Regions from separate parts of the Homo sapiens genome. Here regions 1, 3, 4 and 5 are each linked to region 2. Evidence: promoter capture Hi-C in human tissues and cell types (Jung and others, 2019). All regions are on one chromosome and are shown on one strand. Each heading gives the region's core, a stretch centred on a gene start or on the middle of the fragment in contact. The rest is flanking DNA. Distances are from core to core; before and after follow the strand shown. Region 1 has its middle 37 kb from the start of LINC01030. Region 2 holds the start of NECAB1 (N-terminal EF-hand calcium binding protein 1). Region 3 overlaps TMEM64 (transmembrane protein 64). Region 4 overlaps NECAB1 (N-terminal EF-hand calcium binding protein 1). Region 5 overlaps NECAB1 (N-terminal EF-hand calcium binding protein 1).

Region 1 (3,467 bases), core at 148-2,647, 220 kb before region 2:
AATAAAAGGGCAATTCAGAAGGGAGAGTGGTAGCCTGAACAGAAACTTCCAAACTGTAATAATCAAGGATTCGGAGAAAGCTTAATATGGGGATCTCCAGAGACTGAATTTGCAGAACAAGTGAAGCAGCACAGGGGCTGCCGTTGGTGAACATTCTAACCTTGGTCACCCAGTTAATGTGCTATAGCTTCTGGGGAATACACTTGTCGTAACTGCCACCAAATAGTGAGGTTTTCCTTGAGTAATGAGAAGAAAAATGCATTCACTACCTCAATTCAGTACACAAAGCCCGCAAAGGATAGTTTTACAGGGTTTTAATATCTTCCTGAGCTTTTTAATGAGGGAAACCAAGCACGTCATATCTGCTTTGCTGAAACTTTAAGATTAATGTGGCTGAGTGCAGTGGCTCACGCTTGTAATCCCAGCACTTTGGGAGGCCTAGTCAGGTGGATCACCTGAGGTCAGGAGCTCGAGACCAGCCTGGCCAGCATGGTGAAACCACATCTCTACTAAAAATACAAACATTAGCCAGGTTTGGTAGTGGGTGCCTGTAATCCCAGCTACTTGGGAGGCTGAGGCAGGAGAATTGCTTGAACCCAGGAGGTGGAGGTTGCATGAGCCAAAGTCGTGCCTCTGCACTCCAGCCTGGGCAACACAGCGAGACTCCATTTCAAAACAACAACAACAAAAAAAAAAAAAGATTAATGTACAAGAAGTAAAATATGTGGTAAAAAATAAGTTGTCCGTATTCAATACTTGTAAAAGCAAACTTTGCAAGTTGTGCTTCTAATTCATTCATGACAAAAAAGCTCCACCAAGCTTCCATTCAGCACTGGCAAACACTGCATCAACACTCCCCCTCCCTTATTCCAGACAGACATTAACACGTTGTCCACAGTCTCTTACACAGCTGAAATCTTTATCATCTTATATCTCAATGCTGTGCTGCAGGAAGCCATGAAAAATTAATCGGGACTGGTATCCCAGGTGGAGCTTGTGTGAACCTGGTAACTTAATCCCTGCCATGTACTAGGAGAACCCAGGTTATGTAAAATCATGCCATTGCATAAGTTTGTCTTTTCTGTCCTGGTCACTGGCCATTTTGCCTTCTTCCCATGTTGCTCACACACTTAAATGTTAGGGCTTTTCTGTGCTCTCAAGGCCACATTCCTCAACCAAATAAGAAAGAACTCACATGTTTCTGATCATTTATTGACTAATTATAGATAACTATAGATAGTTCTTAAAGGGGTCAGTTGGTGGTACTGTCAATGTTTCCTTCCTCCCAAATGTTTCTTTGATTTTCCTAAGGATGAATTAGCTGCCCTGCTTCCAAGCATAACAAGAAATGTAAGTGCATTTCTACTAAAAGTAAATCTTTCTCTCACAGTGTCCAGCATTGTGGGATCTCTGTTAATCGCTGTTTATATGTGAGCCTTTAAAGAATGAACATAATGTCAGTTTTGCCTGGGGTAAATTCTTTTATTCCTTATTCAGTTTTCTTACCCAGAAGATTTCCCATCTGAATCACTTTTACCTGGTTTGTTTGACTGGCACGTGGATCCACTTATTGAGATTCCAACTCAAGCTCATTTGGAAAAAAAACTAGAGACTGCACATTTTGAAACAGAAATTCTCCAGGACCTGATCCTGGCATCTTCCATGTCTCTCTAAGGTCTAGAAAGCACACCTGCTTTCACTGATTCTGATAGAGGCCTCTGCTGATTTTCAAAAGGGTCATATGAGAATTCTGAGAGTTCTGCACAACTTAAGATGCCTCTTGGGAGAACTAGCAAGACTAGGAGACAGACCCTTTCCCCATGCTGTGCTTATAGGGTTACCTGACAACAAAGGTTTGCTCCCTACCCCTCAAAATACCATGCACTTTTCTGACTCAGCTTTGAGTCACACTACTGAAGGGTGGCAGGCTATGCCACCCCCAAATATGCCACTTTGACATAAGGATCACTTCAAGCCAGAGGCACTTGAAAAAGAGCAGATTCAAGAAGATTACATGTATTCTAATCTTCCCTTTCTTTTCCCTGAAGGTAGGAGATAAAAACTATCATGTGGAAGATGCCCTCCCTGTGCCAAGAGAAAAGAAACATTCTTCCATGAAGACTCATAGCCGAGATAATTCCGTATAAACAGACCTTGTTAAAAGAATTATCTCCCTTTGGCCTCCCCACAAAATTTAGATACTTTTCCACAATTGCCTCTTTACAAAATCATGTAAGCCTTGCTTTTTTTTTTATCTTCATTTTCTCATGAGGGCTCCTGTGTCATGTAAAATATGTTAAATTTATACGCTTTTCTCTTGTTAATTTATCTTACGTCAATTTAATTCTCAAGCCCAGCAGAGACCCTAGAAGGGCAGAGGTAAATTTTTGCCTGCACTACACTATTGATCCCAAAACACACACACAGAGAGAGAGAGAGAGAAAGAGAGAGAGAGAAACTCTCTTCCTATTCTGTGCCAGTGAAATTCTGCCATCAGCAAATATATCTTTTCTGACTTTGAAAATACTGATGACAGTGGAGATTAAAATCCTACCAAGGCTGCTGCAGAATCAATGACACATGAGGTGGCCAGGCATGGTGGCTCACGACTGTAATCCCAGCACTTTGGGAGGCCAAGGTGGGTGGATCCCCTGAAGCCAAGAGTTCAAGACCAGCCAGGCTAACATGGTGAAACTCCATCTCTACTAAAAATACAAAAAATTAGCCGGGTGTGGTGGCACATGCCTGTAATCCCAGCTACTCAGGAGGCAGAGAGAGGAGAATTGCCTGAGCCCAGAAGGTGGAGGTTGCAGTGAGCCGAGATCATGCCACTGCACTCCAGCCTGGGTAACAGAGTGAGACTCCGTCTCAAAAAAAAAAACAAAAAACAAAAAACAAAAAAAAAACACATGAAGCTTTACCAGAAGATTTCAGTATGTCCTCCAGTGCGTAATTCATTTGTTCAACAATTTTTACTGGGCAGGCATTCTAATAGATGTTGAGGATATCACAATAAATAAGGCAAACAAAATCTCTACCCTATGGTAGAGATTTTGAAATATCAAATTATTAAGTTTTAGGAAAATTCAATGACAAAAAGAAAGTCTTATAATATTACCATGTCCAGATAATGTAAGTATTTACACATTACTATTTCAATTTCATTCAATTTTTTTCTAAACTTTTATTTTTTCAAACATGTAATCATAATATATTAGTGCTAAGTATTAAAACAATTTCTTAATTCCCATGTAAATTTAAGGGTATTTAAGCTTTTTTTTTTTTTTTTTTGAGACGGAGTTACACTCTTGTTGCTCAGGCTGGAGCTCAATGGCGCGATCTCAGCTCACCGCAACCTCCGCCTCATGAGGTTCAAGCAATTCTCCTGCCTCAGCCACCCCAAGTAGCTAGAATTACAGGCATGCGCCACCACGCACGTGGAATCAGTTGTATTGTTTCAATACAAC
Region 2 (3,159 bases), core at 452-2,951:
GTTACCACACACCCCAGGTGATTCCAATGTACAGGCAGCGTTGAGAACAACTGGATTCATTTTTTTTTTTTGTAAGCACCCATCTACAAAGGAGCAGTGGGACTTGGGTGAAGTGAACAAGACACCTAGGGTGCAAAATTTAAGAAAATCATTCTCAGGATCATGCAAGCACAGGATAGAGATTGAGAGCAAGTGCCTCCTTACATTCTGTGCTCAAGTGGCCCCACTTGCCACACCCTAGTCCTGAGCCTACTACATAGCAACTGTGTATGAATCATTAGGGTGAGGGGGACTTGGATTTCTGGACTAGACAGTACTTTAGTATTGGGATTTGGAAAGCCCAGGTAGGATCTGGGATTCTGTATGTTTATAGGAATCCCCAGTGGACTACTTCCAGCTTCCACGTGCTTTCCTGGTGCCATGCTTTGCTTACGCTGTTCCTTCTGCCTGGAAGTGTTTTCCTTCTATTTCTATCAAGCATGGAGTATCCACTGATTTTTAAGGTCCATTTCATATACCGCTTCTTTCATCAAGCTTTTATTGGTCCCCCCAGCCAGAGTGTAACCTGTCTCTCCTGAGAAACCCCTAGCATGTTTTACATGCCTTTAAGACACTCACATGTTGATCAGCATTTTGGTTGTGTGTGGGCCTGTCTTATAGGAAGAATATGTTTACTTTTCTCCAAAGGCCACAAAATGGAGATCTGGATCCTCCTCACCCGTTCTCACTGGTAGAGGCAGAGTCTTGTTTAGACAAGGTTCCCTCTTTTTTGCCTTATCTCGCTCCCAGATAGCTCAAGTTTGTAACCAACACATACACATTTTAGATGCCCAATAAACTGGATCTCTCTCCTGATGAAAGGTGTGGTCAGTTTCCTATTTTTACAGCCTTCGCAGAAGCCGTCAAATATTGAATAATTACCCTGGTTTAAATGCTTAAACACAGATAAGGACTTCGTCTTGTGACTTTGGGAAACTTCATATTTGAACATTACCTAACAATCCTTGCCCCATAGCAAACGTTTCGAAGCCTACTCTAGGCAGAGTTCATAGCACCGCCTTTGTCAGCAGCACTGCCATAGGTAAGCCTCAGAACCCTCTGGGGTGAGACCGGTGTAACCATTTTACTGATGAGGAAAAGTGAGGCTTACAGGTTAAGTCCTTCGAGCGCAAGATAACACCGAATGGCTTAATCCCTACACCAAACCAGCTGCTCCTCGATTGCTGGTATTCGTGAACCCTGCCCCCGCCTTTGGGGAAGGTCGGGCAGACAGGCCACTGGGACCAAAAGCAGAGTAGGTAGAACCTCTCTGAGTTCCTCCCTATTTATGGCATCCACTCAGGTGAGGCTGGGGGCGTCCTTACCTTGCGCTTTGGCTGCTCAGGACAAACGCCCTGCCATTCGTCCCTTCTCTCTGTCCGGACGCCCTCCTCCATCCCTGCACTTGGGGCCGTCGTGGGGCTGGTAGGGGTCCCCAGGCTATCTCCAGCCGTGGCCGATGGCCGTGCCGGGGGCAGAGCCCGCTCCCCTCCGCGCGTTGCTACGTGCGGGGATGACATGGATCCAGACGCCGTCAACTACGGGAAGGAGGAGGCGAGAGTTGGAGCGCGTGGGAGCGCAGAGGCCGGAGGAGGGAGGGGGGGACACCGAGCGCGGAGAGCGCGGAGAGCGCGGAGGGAGGCGCGCGCGGGAGCGAACACCCTCCCGGATCCAGAGCCCGGCGGCGGCGAAGCAGCAGCTGCGGCCGCGCCCTTGCCAGAGCCGGTGCGTCCGCCTAGCCCCGCTCCGCCTGAGGCCGTCAGGGCTCCCGAGGATGGAAGATTCCCAGGAGACATCGCCGTCCTCCAACAACTCCTCGGAGGAGCTCAGCTCTGCTCTGCACCTGTCCAAGGGCATGTCGATCTTCCTCGACGTAAGTACAGATGGTGGGAGCTGGGCGGTTGCTTCCCAGCACCTTTCTTTTCCCCGAAAGGAAGGGGTTCGGCTCAGGTGCTGACCAGCCAATGCTTTGTCCCCAGAACACAGGCGAGAACTACCGATGCAAATGCAGGAGGAACGACTGTCCCTTAACTTGCAGCTAGGGCTGTCCCAGACCTGCAGCTTGTGGCTTAACACCCTTAAGAAAACTGCAAAAGTTAGATTTTCCAACAGGCTGGGTTTCGTAGAGACACTATTGCAAATACAACAGACAACATTTGAGTGCATAGGACATTTTAAAGAGGCACAAGGTGTGGGGGGTGAGGTGGGGACAGTGTCCCAACTCATCTCTCTAACGCGCCCTATTCGCAGCCTTCACACTCGTGGATGCTCTCAAGCAACCCAGCCAGGGAAGCAGCAGCGATTGAGATGCCCTCGTTATCCTCCCCCAGACCCCCTCGGAAAACAATTACTTTGAGCATATTTGTTTTTCTTTTTACAGCGGTGGGAAATATCATTTTCATAATGATTCTTTTTGTCACTGCCACCTCTTCTATTTTCCCTTTTTCTTCCCTGATATTCTCCTTCTCTCCAAGTTCTAATTACTACTGTCACCTCCATGAATTCTAGCTTTTGACTATTTTCCCTTTGGTCCAATTTCTCACTTCGGTATCGACTGCCTGCCTTCATTACTCTGATCTGATTACATCCTTTCTTTTCCTTCTGTGCTGTTTCTTTTTCCCGTATGGTGTGGTTTCTATCTTTACAGCACTTTTATTTCTTATTTATTTCTCAATTTTGTTTTCCTCTCCTGCCTGCTGTTTCTGTTTTCTCTATTTTTCCGTCTGTTGCCTATCTCTTCTCTCTGCTTTGGGGTTTCTCTCAGCTGCTTGCCGGGCTCCAGGCTCTCCCAGCCCCTCAGTTGTCACATTCATGCTGTTGCCGGAGGTCGTGTCTATCTCAGTGGGGACAATTCTGTCTGCTTCTTGTTTAGGCATGATAGAAAATGTCAAAGGACATGGAGGAGTGCTACGTGCTCTGTCCTTTACCCTTCTCTGAGTTATCTTTTCTTATTAAAGTCAAAATGAGTGGGAGATGGGCCAGAAGCCAGATACATTTGTTTGTGGAGAGATGAAAATATGAGGAAATCAATTAGTATCATAATGGTGAGGCAGAGATAAAGAGGATAGGAGGATGTGAGGCGCTCTCCCAAGTTTATTTTGAATGGATTGGCTAGAATTC
Region 3 (3,216 bases), core at 65-2,564, 150 kb before region 2:
CTACTACATCTTGTCAACCGCACCTTCTCTGGGGAAATCTATCCACCGTCTGGGCCTATTTCTAATTCAGTCTCCTCTTTGGTCCTGACTACACAGACTACCCCCACTCACTACCTATGGTAACCCTGCAGAAATCTTTTTAAAAAGTGAGCCTAATCCTGCTTAAACTCCCTCCTACTGCCATGAGGTTCTTCAGAGTGCAAAGTGCTTCATGATCTGGCCTCTGAGCATTTCATGCACCCTGTCACACTATGTCCCAGTCACATCAAAATTTTCTCAGTTCCTAGAACACTACTTGCTCCCCTTTCCCTCTGGGCCTTTCTACGTTGTTCCTTCTGGGGAGTACAACAAGCACATCCTTCTTCCCACTCCATTTACTCCGAAAACTCCTACACTGTCTTTCACTACTCAGTCATCAATTACTCTAGGAAACCTTCCCAGATGCCCCAAGTCTTTGTTAAGTGCTTTCAAGTGCTCTGACAGAACACTATACTTCCCTGTCCCCTTTGCACTGGAGAACAACTGAAGGTTTCACCATTTGTTTGCCCCTCAGTCCTTTCCCAGACTATAAATTCTGTGAGGAAAGGGATCTGTCGTTCTTGGTCCTCATTGTGTCCCTAGATCTTAACAAATGCCTACTATATATTAGTTGCTAAATATATGTTTATTGGAGGTTGGATGTATCAACACCAATAATGCTTTATTTATAAATATGGAAACCTAGAATAGTTGCCAGTTTATAAACAAGTTGGAATGCAATGTCCATTTTTAATCGGATTTTCAGAAATTAAGAACACTCTGCCAAACACACAGAAAAAATGTTATAAATGAAAATTAGCTTATTATCAGCAAAACTTACACCATGATTTACCTAGAATGCTATTTCTCCACTGGAATGCTACCACCTCAAGGGAGAGACTTTCTTTTATTCACGGCTACACCTCCAGCATTTAAAACAGCAGCAGGCACATACTAGGCACCTACCAATTATTTACTGAATGAATACTAAAAATATTTCCAGAAACCGCCATGGTGAACCTAATGTCAAGGCTAAGACCCTCTGGTTAGGGTCTCTCAAGCAACCCTGAGAGTACTGAAAAAAGTCTTGCTACTGGAGGAAAAAAAAAAAAAAGAACAAGAAGGCCGCAGCAGTGCTGAGACCCTACCCTAACAGCTAGAGAGGGCTTCAGGGTAAAGAGATTTCTACTGACAGAAATGGTTAGGTCAATGTCTGTCTACAACACAGAAGCATCTTCACATATGCAAGCTTTTTCATGACTTCACTGTCCCTAAATTAGGAACTGCTTTTAATGGTTCCCAAATATCTTAGGGAGAGGTCACCAATTTATTTGAGAATCTGGTGTAACCCCCCTTCCACCCTCCCACCCACATACACACAGAGGCCTTGAATCTTCTCTCAAGGGGGGAAAAATGTATATCTTATTGTACATAATTTCTGGAACACAAGTTGAAAAGCTTTTCTTCATACAGTCTGACATACTATAGGTTTATTATTTGTACTAAAACATGTATCATATGCCTTCTATATATATCTAAGACCCAGTTCTAAGCAGAATAAAAAAGATACAAAGATGGAAAACTACAGCTGACTGTGCAGTCATTAAAAGTCATGTTGTAATACACGTAATAACAAGATGTTCATTACTTCAAGTAAAAGAAGGTCACAAAAATCATTAACTCAATATTATATTAAAATACATATCAATAAAATGCAAAGAGAAAAATAAACACGAAAATGTTAATGATGTTTTTCTTTGTACTTGCTATACTTTTCAAAGTTTTTACAATGAATACATACAGACAGAAAAAACAAACATTGTTAAAACATGTTTTAATAACCTCGTTGCTTTTAAACAAATTTTTTTTAATCTAGGAAGGGTTAATAAAACATACTCTATATACATTAATATAACAGGCTAGAGATATAGATTAGTGAATTGTAAGCCTACATATGACACAAAAACTGCAGAAGCTGATGAGATAACTAAAGAGACACAAAGAGGGGAAAACAGTTTCAAGGAAATAAAGGTCAACTGCATTCAGTGGTATTGTGAGGTCTCAGGATGTGCACTGAGATGACATTACACAACTTGTTCATCCTATCTGACCCTTAAGGGCCAGACTCCAACTCTTTCAAAACACAGACTGTGTCTGCCTTTCTATTTTGCCTGAACTGTACCACTGGCAGCGAATCATTACACTTTAATAGTAAGAAGAAATCATCATTAGATACACTGATACAGTGACAAGTATTATGACCGATCATATCTTTTTTTGAATCTATGGCTCTATCTACAGCACAGAATAAGAATTAAGAAAATAAGAAAACATATTACAGAATAAGAACTCAAGAAAATGAGAAAATGTGTATTTTTATAACACATACTATCACTAAACTGTTAAAAAATAAAAGGTAATGTTACACTGTTGCTCAGAACATTTGTCTTTTTAAAAGCAAACTCTGACCTCATCTGTACCCTCTCATTTTACAAATAAGGAAAACTGAAGGCCAGAATCATTAAATCACTTCGCCAGGGCTACAAAGGAGCTAAGACAGAACCAGAAGACCCCATAGCATAAGCTAAGACTATACTGTATTTGTGGTCTTAGAGTCATTTGCCAAAAACTTTTATTTAGTTGTAATAAATTTCAGTTCAAATATAAACTAAATTAGTAAAAGTAATTTATCTTCTTGATAGCTCAATGCAAACTCAAAGAAAACTTGAGAACAGTTATATCTGCTTAAAGTTATGATGACATCTTTCACTATTATTATTTCAGTCAGTACCAGTTTCACAGCTCCCCGGCTCCCTCCAAAACAAAGAATCTATTTGTTGCTTCAAACCTATGGTGGGCTCATATAAATAACCAAAGTAACTGGCAGTTTGGTAACATTCAATTCTATAAAGCAGTTCCCTAAGAAGTGAGCCAGGGTGATGGGTAAGGTCTTGCACTTTAAAATTTACTCATTTCTATTTTGTTTGCATTTTACACACAGTACCCATTTATTGCTTTAAAAATTTTTTTTCTGTTAAATAAAAATACAAGATATATGTGAGAAATTAAGGGCCTCTTCCTACAGTTGCAGGGGCTCAGCCTTGGTAGCTGTTTTGTTGGTGTGACTCTAAGGCAGAAGTTGGCAAACTTTTTCCATGAAGCACCAGGTAGTAAACAGTTCAGGCTCTGTAGGCAGTA
Region 4 (3,128 bases), core at 164-2,663, 140 kb after region 2:
CAGGAATGGACAACCAACCATTCTATATTCTCACTCATAAGTGGGAGCTAAGCTATGAGGATGCAAAGGCATAAGAATGACACAGTAGACTTTGGGGACTCAGGAGAAAAGGGTGGTAGGGAGATGAGGGATAAAAGACTACAAATCGGGTTCAGTGTATACTGTTCAGGTGACGGGTGCACCAACATCTCACAAATCACCACTCAAGAACTTACCTGTACAAGCAAATACCACCTGTTCCCCAAAAACCTATGGAAATAAAAAAAAAAACTTTTTTTTAAGACTTCACGGTCTTTATAGGAGTTCTTCACTTTTAGCAAATGTCAATCGTATTTTCATTTACTCTTTAATTCACTTTCTATTTAATAAAGAAAAATTAACACCAGGGTATAAATGTATTGTAACAATAGACTAATGTTTATAATGATGTCCCAAGAAATGTAGAAATGTGGCAATACTCATTCATAGCAAAATAAAGCAGACTGTTAGGCTTAGTCATTCTGTTTCCTTTTCTTTCGTTTACCTTCCTACCCTTTCCCTCTCTGTTTTAATGTACCTTTCTCTTCCACTTTGCTCTCTAATGGCATTCAAGAAGTAAATTTAAAGCAATACTTTGAACACGTCTAAAACAGCTTCTTACAATTGATAAATAAGTACAAAGAGTCTTTATTGGAACAGCTGAGTTTTAAAAAAATCAGTATTATTTCATCTTTAAGATAATGAAGTTCTTTTGGTTCAATGTTAGCCATGAGAGAACTATGATTTGAATATATGGCATTGTTTTAAATGATATAATTTTTTTTCTTTTCTGCCATTTCTTCCTCTTATTGAAGGATCTCAAACTCGAACCACCAGAAGAAGAAATTATTGAAGGGAATACTAAATCTGTAAGTATTTTTATCAGGTAAAAATGTTAGAAATATATTCTTTAAAAACATAATTTAATTTCTTCAAAAATTAGTTATCTCAATGAAAAATTGAAAAACCAAGTAGTCGTATTTCATTTTATAAGATTCAGTAGTGTTGTTTCTACATTGTGATTTGTGTAAACCTAATACCTACTTCACAGTTTTTGCAAAAGTACCTGGCATGTAATAGGTGCAAAATGAAAATTTTATACATGTATAAATCAATGAGTTATTGAATAATTGAAGGAATATGACTGGCAGAGAAGGGCAACATTTAAGTTGTATCATAAACATTTTGTAAATCCTGCTATGTTGTACACTGGATATACCTGAGCGGAAACCTGGTTCTGTTCATTATTATATTTCCAGCATTTAGCCTAGGGCCAGGCACATTGAAAATGCTCAGAAATAATTTTTCAAAGAATAAATTGATGCAAAAGGGAACATTTGTATCCCTAGGGACAAGATGTCCATCCAGAGTGGCAGCAGTTTTTGGAAACAGAAGAAGAATGGACAAAGGGATCCTAAAAAGTACATTAAGATGCAACAAAAAGAAGTTAGCAAATAATTAAAAGCAGTACATACCAAGCTTTATTATTTACTTTATGTTGAGGCAAACATGCATAGTACATTTTGTTTCAGGAAGTTGGATGTTTATATTTACATTTAGTGAAAATTTGGATTTTAAAATCTTGGGTAACTAGGAGAAAAATCATTTTTTAATCCCTTAGATGTATTATATACTTTATAGATGTCAAAGGATTGGTCACACATTTATATGAAACCAAGGTAGGAAATAACCTTTCATCTCTGAATTGTGCACAAGCACTGACTACATGATAGATGAAGTTGAGACCCACCTATGTGTAAGGCTCCTGCCCATCTGTCCAAACTCATAATCCAAAGGGATTCTTCAGAGGAAGCTTTGTGGGAGTCTCAGAAAAGTTTAATCATGGCTGCTACTGTTAGAATCCTATAGTTATGAATACTTTACCCCGATAAGCTAGATTTGTCACTGCATGTCTAGTGCTTTTATCCCTCCAGAGACAGGGATGTAGTCTGTGTTAATTCCTCAAGACCCCAACATTTTAAAATGGTAGACTTTCATGGGAAAGAGAGGAGAGGGGTGTTGAGCACATATACATACTAAGAATAGCGGATTTGTGCAGTCCCGGAGGCACAGGAATTGTTAACCTTGTGATCATGCATCTGTTATCTTCTCGTAGGTTTGCATAGAGGAAAAACTATACTCCAGACAAAGGAAAAACAAATATAACTTATCTAATGTTGTGAGAGATAATTGCCTATTCTTAAATAATTTTCTAATGTGAGATTATTTTTTCTCTCTAGTTATGAAGAGGAAAAATTGTCTAAGGATTGTTTGTGAAAGGAGGCAGCTATTCCATTTGCAGGTCCCTGAGCAGCCAAAGCCAAGGCCAATTTTAAAAGATCAACACACAAAACATTACTAATTCAGTAGTGCATAGAAGTACTTTAAACAAATAAGACTGAAGAAGGTCATTCAGCTCTCAATATTGTTTAAAAGCAGAAAAGGATATTCCCTATTTCCAGCCATATATAGAGGTATAGCAATTATGCTCTTTGGGAATAGACATAAAAATTTGAATTGGTTTGTTTTTTCAGAAGTAACAATAAGATATTTGTCATTAAAAGTTGTTTTTTTAATTAATGGTAGTAAGTGCATTACTATAAATTCCTGTAAAACCTCCTATATTCAGAATGACCAAAATCATTTTTCACTGTTATTTCATAGCTAGTGCTCTAGTGCTCATAATTCCATCCTACCATGTGTTAAATGATCTATCCTGATGCCCAAAACCAGTTTTAGAATTTATTGAGTAGAGAGGTATTTTCCCTTTTCCATTAGTGAATGCTTGAGAACTTGGAAAAATAAATTCTATGACAGAAAGCAAAGAATAAATTTGTATTACACTTGGTTTTTGAAATGCTAATCTTTACTGATCCTTTGCTATGTGCCAAGTGTTGTACTAAACACATACATAACTCACTTAATCCTCACAATAGCCAGCCAAATGAGGTAGTGCTATCCTCAGACTCATTTTATCAATGAAGAAATTAAGGTTTAAAGGAGTTTACCTACCATAGCTGAACCCCTGCAGTTCAACCCCAGACCTATGCTCATCACCATGCTCTAACATTTTCAGCCTAAGTGTTTAGTGGATTTCTAGCCTGTAAAGT
Region 5 (3,293 bases), core at 138-2,637, 160 kb after region 2:
TGTCCTTAGTTGACCCTATTTGTATTCCCAGCTATACTGAACCATTAGTCATTTGCTAATCATATTAACAAACTTGAAGTACCACCAAATCATATTTCAAAAAATTATTCAAATATTTTATCATATTGTAATTTAGTGTACTGGATACAATTTGTTCATCTACCCATCCAATTACTGATTAAATATATATTTACTGAGTATTAATATGTGCTAGGCATCAGGGTGTTTAGCCTAATTTACTGGTACTGATTGAGCTCCATTTCTGAACAAGCACTGTGTTGGGAGCTACAAAGGGTACAAACTAAAGGCAAAATCCCTACCCATAAAGTGCTTTCTGTCCAGCTTCACAGAAACGTTTGCAAAGACAAATTTTAGCAGAAAAAAAAAACCCAGCTAAGGGAATAAAATAGCTGTCACCATTAGAGATAATATGTGTTTTGTGGACTTGGAGAAGTGATTACTTCTTTAATAGTTTTTAAGAAAATGACTTGAGCTAGTCCTTAAAAGATGAGATGTGGAAAAGTAAAGATGGAGAGGAAGGGTCCTTTGGTAAATTTGGACATGAACAAATGCAAGAAGTGTGAATGTGCTTTATAGGTGCAAAGGTGTCACTAAGGCATAAAACTTACAGTACAAGTGGAGACAGACGAGAGAGTAAGAAGTGAGGTTGAGAATGTCATAATGAGGCTTTTGAACAGCAACCTGGAGTAATTTAAAGTTTTGAAAGGGATGGTGACATGTTCTAATCAGTAATAACTGACAGGAGGGAGAAAGGTGGATGTCATGGAGAGGAGAGAGATTAACCAATTAGGGCAATAATCTAGGCCAGGGAAGAAAAAAAAAAAAACCTGCACCAGGAAATAGCCAGAGTTTGGGACTCCAGTTGCAGATGTAATTTTCAGGAGTTAACCACAGCAAGATGATTGTTGAAGCCTGGGATTGGTAAGAAAGTATGTAGGTAAGAACAAAATATCTAAGAGAAGCTTGGGGAGATGCCTTTCTTTAAGCAGTGGAGTATCAAGGAAACCAAAAGAGTAAAATGCAAAGATACAGTGCTCCTGGGGATGAGTGGGGGATGTATAGTGTTATGATGTTATAAATGGGAGGAAGGCTGGGCGCGGTGGCTCACGCCTGTAATCCCAGCACTTTGGGAGGCTGAGGTGGGCGGATCACAAGGCCAGGAGCTCGAAACCAGCCTGACCAACATGGTGAAACCCCACCTCTACTAAAAATACAAAAAGTAGCTGGGCATGGTGGGGCATGCCTGTAATCCTAGCTGCTCAGGAGGCTGAGGCAGGAGAATTGCTTGAACCCAGGAGGCGGAGGGTTGCAGTGAGCCAAGATCGCACCACTGCACTCCAGACTGGGCGACAGAGCGAGACTCCATGTCAAAAAACAATAATAATAAAATTAAAATAAAATAAAATAAAATAGGGAGAAAAATCTTAGAATACAACTTCTGTAAATATGACTGCTGCAAGCTTTGTACATAGAATGCAGGAAAGTGAGATCCACATTTTATTTATCTTCACATTCCCTACCCTATTACAGTATTACTATAGTACAGTATATGGCAAGAAGAAATTATTTCCTAAATGAAGGAATGAATAGGACTTTGGCATCATCATAAATATATTGGTCTTCGGTCAAAATTTCCACGAAGTCCTGACACTTGTAATTTTTGTGTCTGTCATCACACCCATTTCCATCTCTCCCAAACCAATGTGGAAAGAAAGGAACAAAGCTTGTTCTTATTAGTGTCTTGAGTCTTTCCAGGACAGAAACAACCTGATCAAAAATAGAGTAGGAAAAGAGGATAGAACAGGAGGCTACTGAATTATCAGTGAGGGGGAAAATGCTATAGCAAGAATTGAAAATGTGGACTAATCTGATAGTTTTCTGACCCAACTTTATCATTATCTGGAATTATTTTCTAGACACTACTAGTGTCATTGGCACATATATTACTCTTTCTCTCTCAGAGCATTTCCTAATTTAGAAAGAAAAACTGACTACAGATAAAACTGGATCAATTCTTGTTCTGTGAATCCAGGCTCAATACAATTTAATGTCTTTTAATTGCTGCCCTATTTTGTATTAATTTCATGTTACATTTAATTTCAACAATGATTACTGGAATTTCGTAGAACAAGAGGAAAAGTTAGGCTTGATTTTTGACACAATTTTAAAACCTACAACATTTTGACATTTATTGGGACATCCCACCTTATTTTAAAGTTTTATCACTGTGACAGCAGGCCTATTCCAGTAAGCAGAAGCTAGCATATAAATATTATTTATGGGTTTTAATGGCCATATAACTTCTAACACTATTTTTAAAAACCAGTTTTGTACATTTTGTGTTATAATGGTTATGAAGATTAAAAATAAAAATAATTAGCTGGGCGCTATGGCTCACGCCTGTAATCCCAGCACTTTGGGAGGCGAAGGTGGGCAGATGACCTGAGGACAGGAGATCGAGACCAGTGGCCAATATGGTGAAATCCTCTCTTTACTAAAAAATACAAAAAATTAGCCAGGCATGGTGGTGCATACCTGTAATCCCAGCTACTTGGTAGGCTGATGCAGGAGACTCACTTGAACCTGGGAGGCAGAGGTTGCAGTGAACTGAGTTCGTGCCAGTGCACTCCAGCCTGGGTGACAGAACGAGACTGTCTCAAAATAAATAAATAAATAAATAAATAAATAAATAAATAAATAAATAAATAGCTGCACATATTTATACCTAAAATTAAAATCTGAAAGAAAAAAAGCAGATATTACATTTAAAAATGCAGTATGAATAAGTTTGTATTTCTAATTTTACTCACAAATTATGATTTCTGGTAAGATTGCTTTTTATGGTTAAGACTACTAAGTGGTTTACCTAAGATACATCTAAAGTAATTAAGCAACTAAGCCAGATTGCATCCAGATATGAAAATATACACTATAATATATTCCAATGACCTCTCAAGTATAAAATCATTCAAATGAAGCATACTGGAATATGGCAGCCCAAACCACCCAGACAAAAGGAGTATATAAACTTGGTCTGTGGAGCAGAATGTCCATTGGTAATAACAGAAAAACCTACGGTTATGGGAAAACAGGATACAAAAAAAAAGATCCTATTGCCAGCAAATTACTTGAACAGTTTTGAAAGCAAATTTCAATCCTTTCCATTTATCTGTTTCTTACAGCATTCCACCAATCATACATCTTTGCCATTGGTTTGTTTTCAGGATATCTATATTCACTGGGATAAACATTTATAATTTTAACATACAGAT

Evidence for each region. Contacts are between HindIII fragments. The study calls those that stand out against the background at their distance.
Region 1: a fragment that was not itself captured here is called in contact with the fragment with the promoter of NECAB1 in region 2 in 2 of the 25 tissues and cell types used here (aorta and spleen).
Region 3: a fragment that was not itself captured here is called in contact with the fragment with the promoter of NECAB1 in region 2 in 2 of the 25 tissues and cell types used here (mesendoderm cells and thymus).
Region 4: a contact is called between a fragment that was not itself captured here and the fragment with the promoter of NECAB1 in region 2, in 3 of the 25 tissues and cell types used here (dorsolateral prefrontal cortex, hippocampus and liver).
Region 5: a contact is called between a fragment that was not itself captured here and the fragment with the promoter of NECAB1 in region 2, in 6 of the 25 tissues and cell types used here (H1 embryonic stem cells, dorsolateral prefrontal cortex, heart left ventricle and 3 more).

What each region holds. Positions count from the first base shown.
Region 1 is chr8:90,567,087-90,570,553 of GRCh38, forward strand. No RefSeq gene overlaps it. Among named protein-coding and RNA genes, the nearest start is that of LINC01030, 37 kb to the right of the region's middle. RefSeq lists an enhancer at 2,012-2,513. The HindIII fragment of the contact is 3,391 bases long and covers 1-3,093 here.
Region 2 is chr8:90,790,074-90,793,232 of GRCh38, forward strand. It overlaps NECAB1 (N-terminal EF-hand calcium binding protein 1), which reads left to right and starts at 1,702. Exons shown (of 13, transcript NM_022351.5): 1 at 1,702-1,912. The coding sequence starts at 1,814. It overlaps LOC105375633 (a long non-coding RNA gene), which reads right to left and starts at 2,095. Exons shown (of 4, transcript XR_928389.4): 1 at 1,365-2,095. The HindIII fragment of the contact is 16,269 bases long and covers 1-3,159 here.
Region 3 is chr8:90,637,996-90,641,211 of GRCh38, forward strand. All of the region lies in intron 1 of TMEM64 (transmembrane protein 64), which reads right to left. Among named protein-coding and RNA genes, the nearest start is that of TMEM64, 6.5 kb to the right of the region's middle. The HindIII fragment of the contact is 3,462 bases long and covers 1-3,045 here.
Region 4 is chr8:90,933,471-90,936,598 of GRCh38, forward strand. NECAB1 (N-terminal EF-hand calcium binding protein 1) reads left to right here. Exons shown (of 13, transcript NM_022351.5): 9 at 834-887. The region is part of intron 1 of LOC105375634 (a long non-coding RNA gene); the gene reads right to left. Among named protein-coding and RNA genes, the nearest start is that of C8orf88, 50 kb to the right of the region's middle. The HindIII fragment of the contact is 3,943 bases long and covers 1-3,128 here.
Region 5 is chr8:90,951,388-90,954,680 of GRCh38, forward strand. The region is part of intron 12 of NECAB1 (N-terminal EF-hand calcium binding protein 1); the gene reads left to right. It also overlaps a transcript of LOC105375634 not described here. Among named protein-coding and RNA genes, the nearest start is that of C8orf88, 32 kb to the right of the region's middle. The HindIII fragment of the contact is 5,493 bases long and covers 1-3,293 here.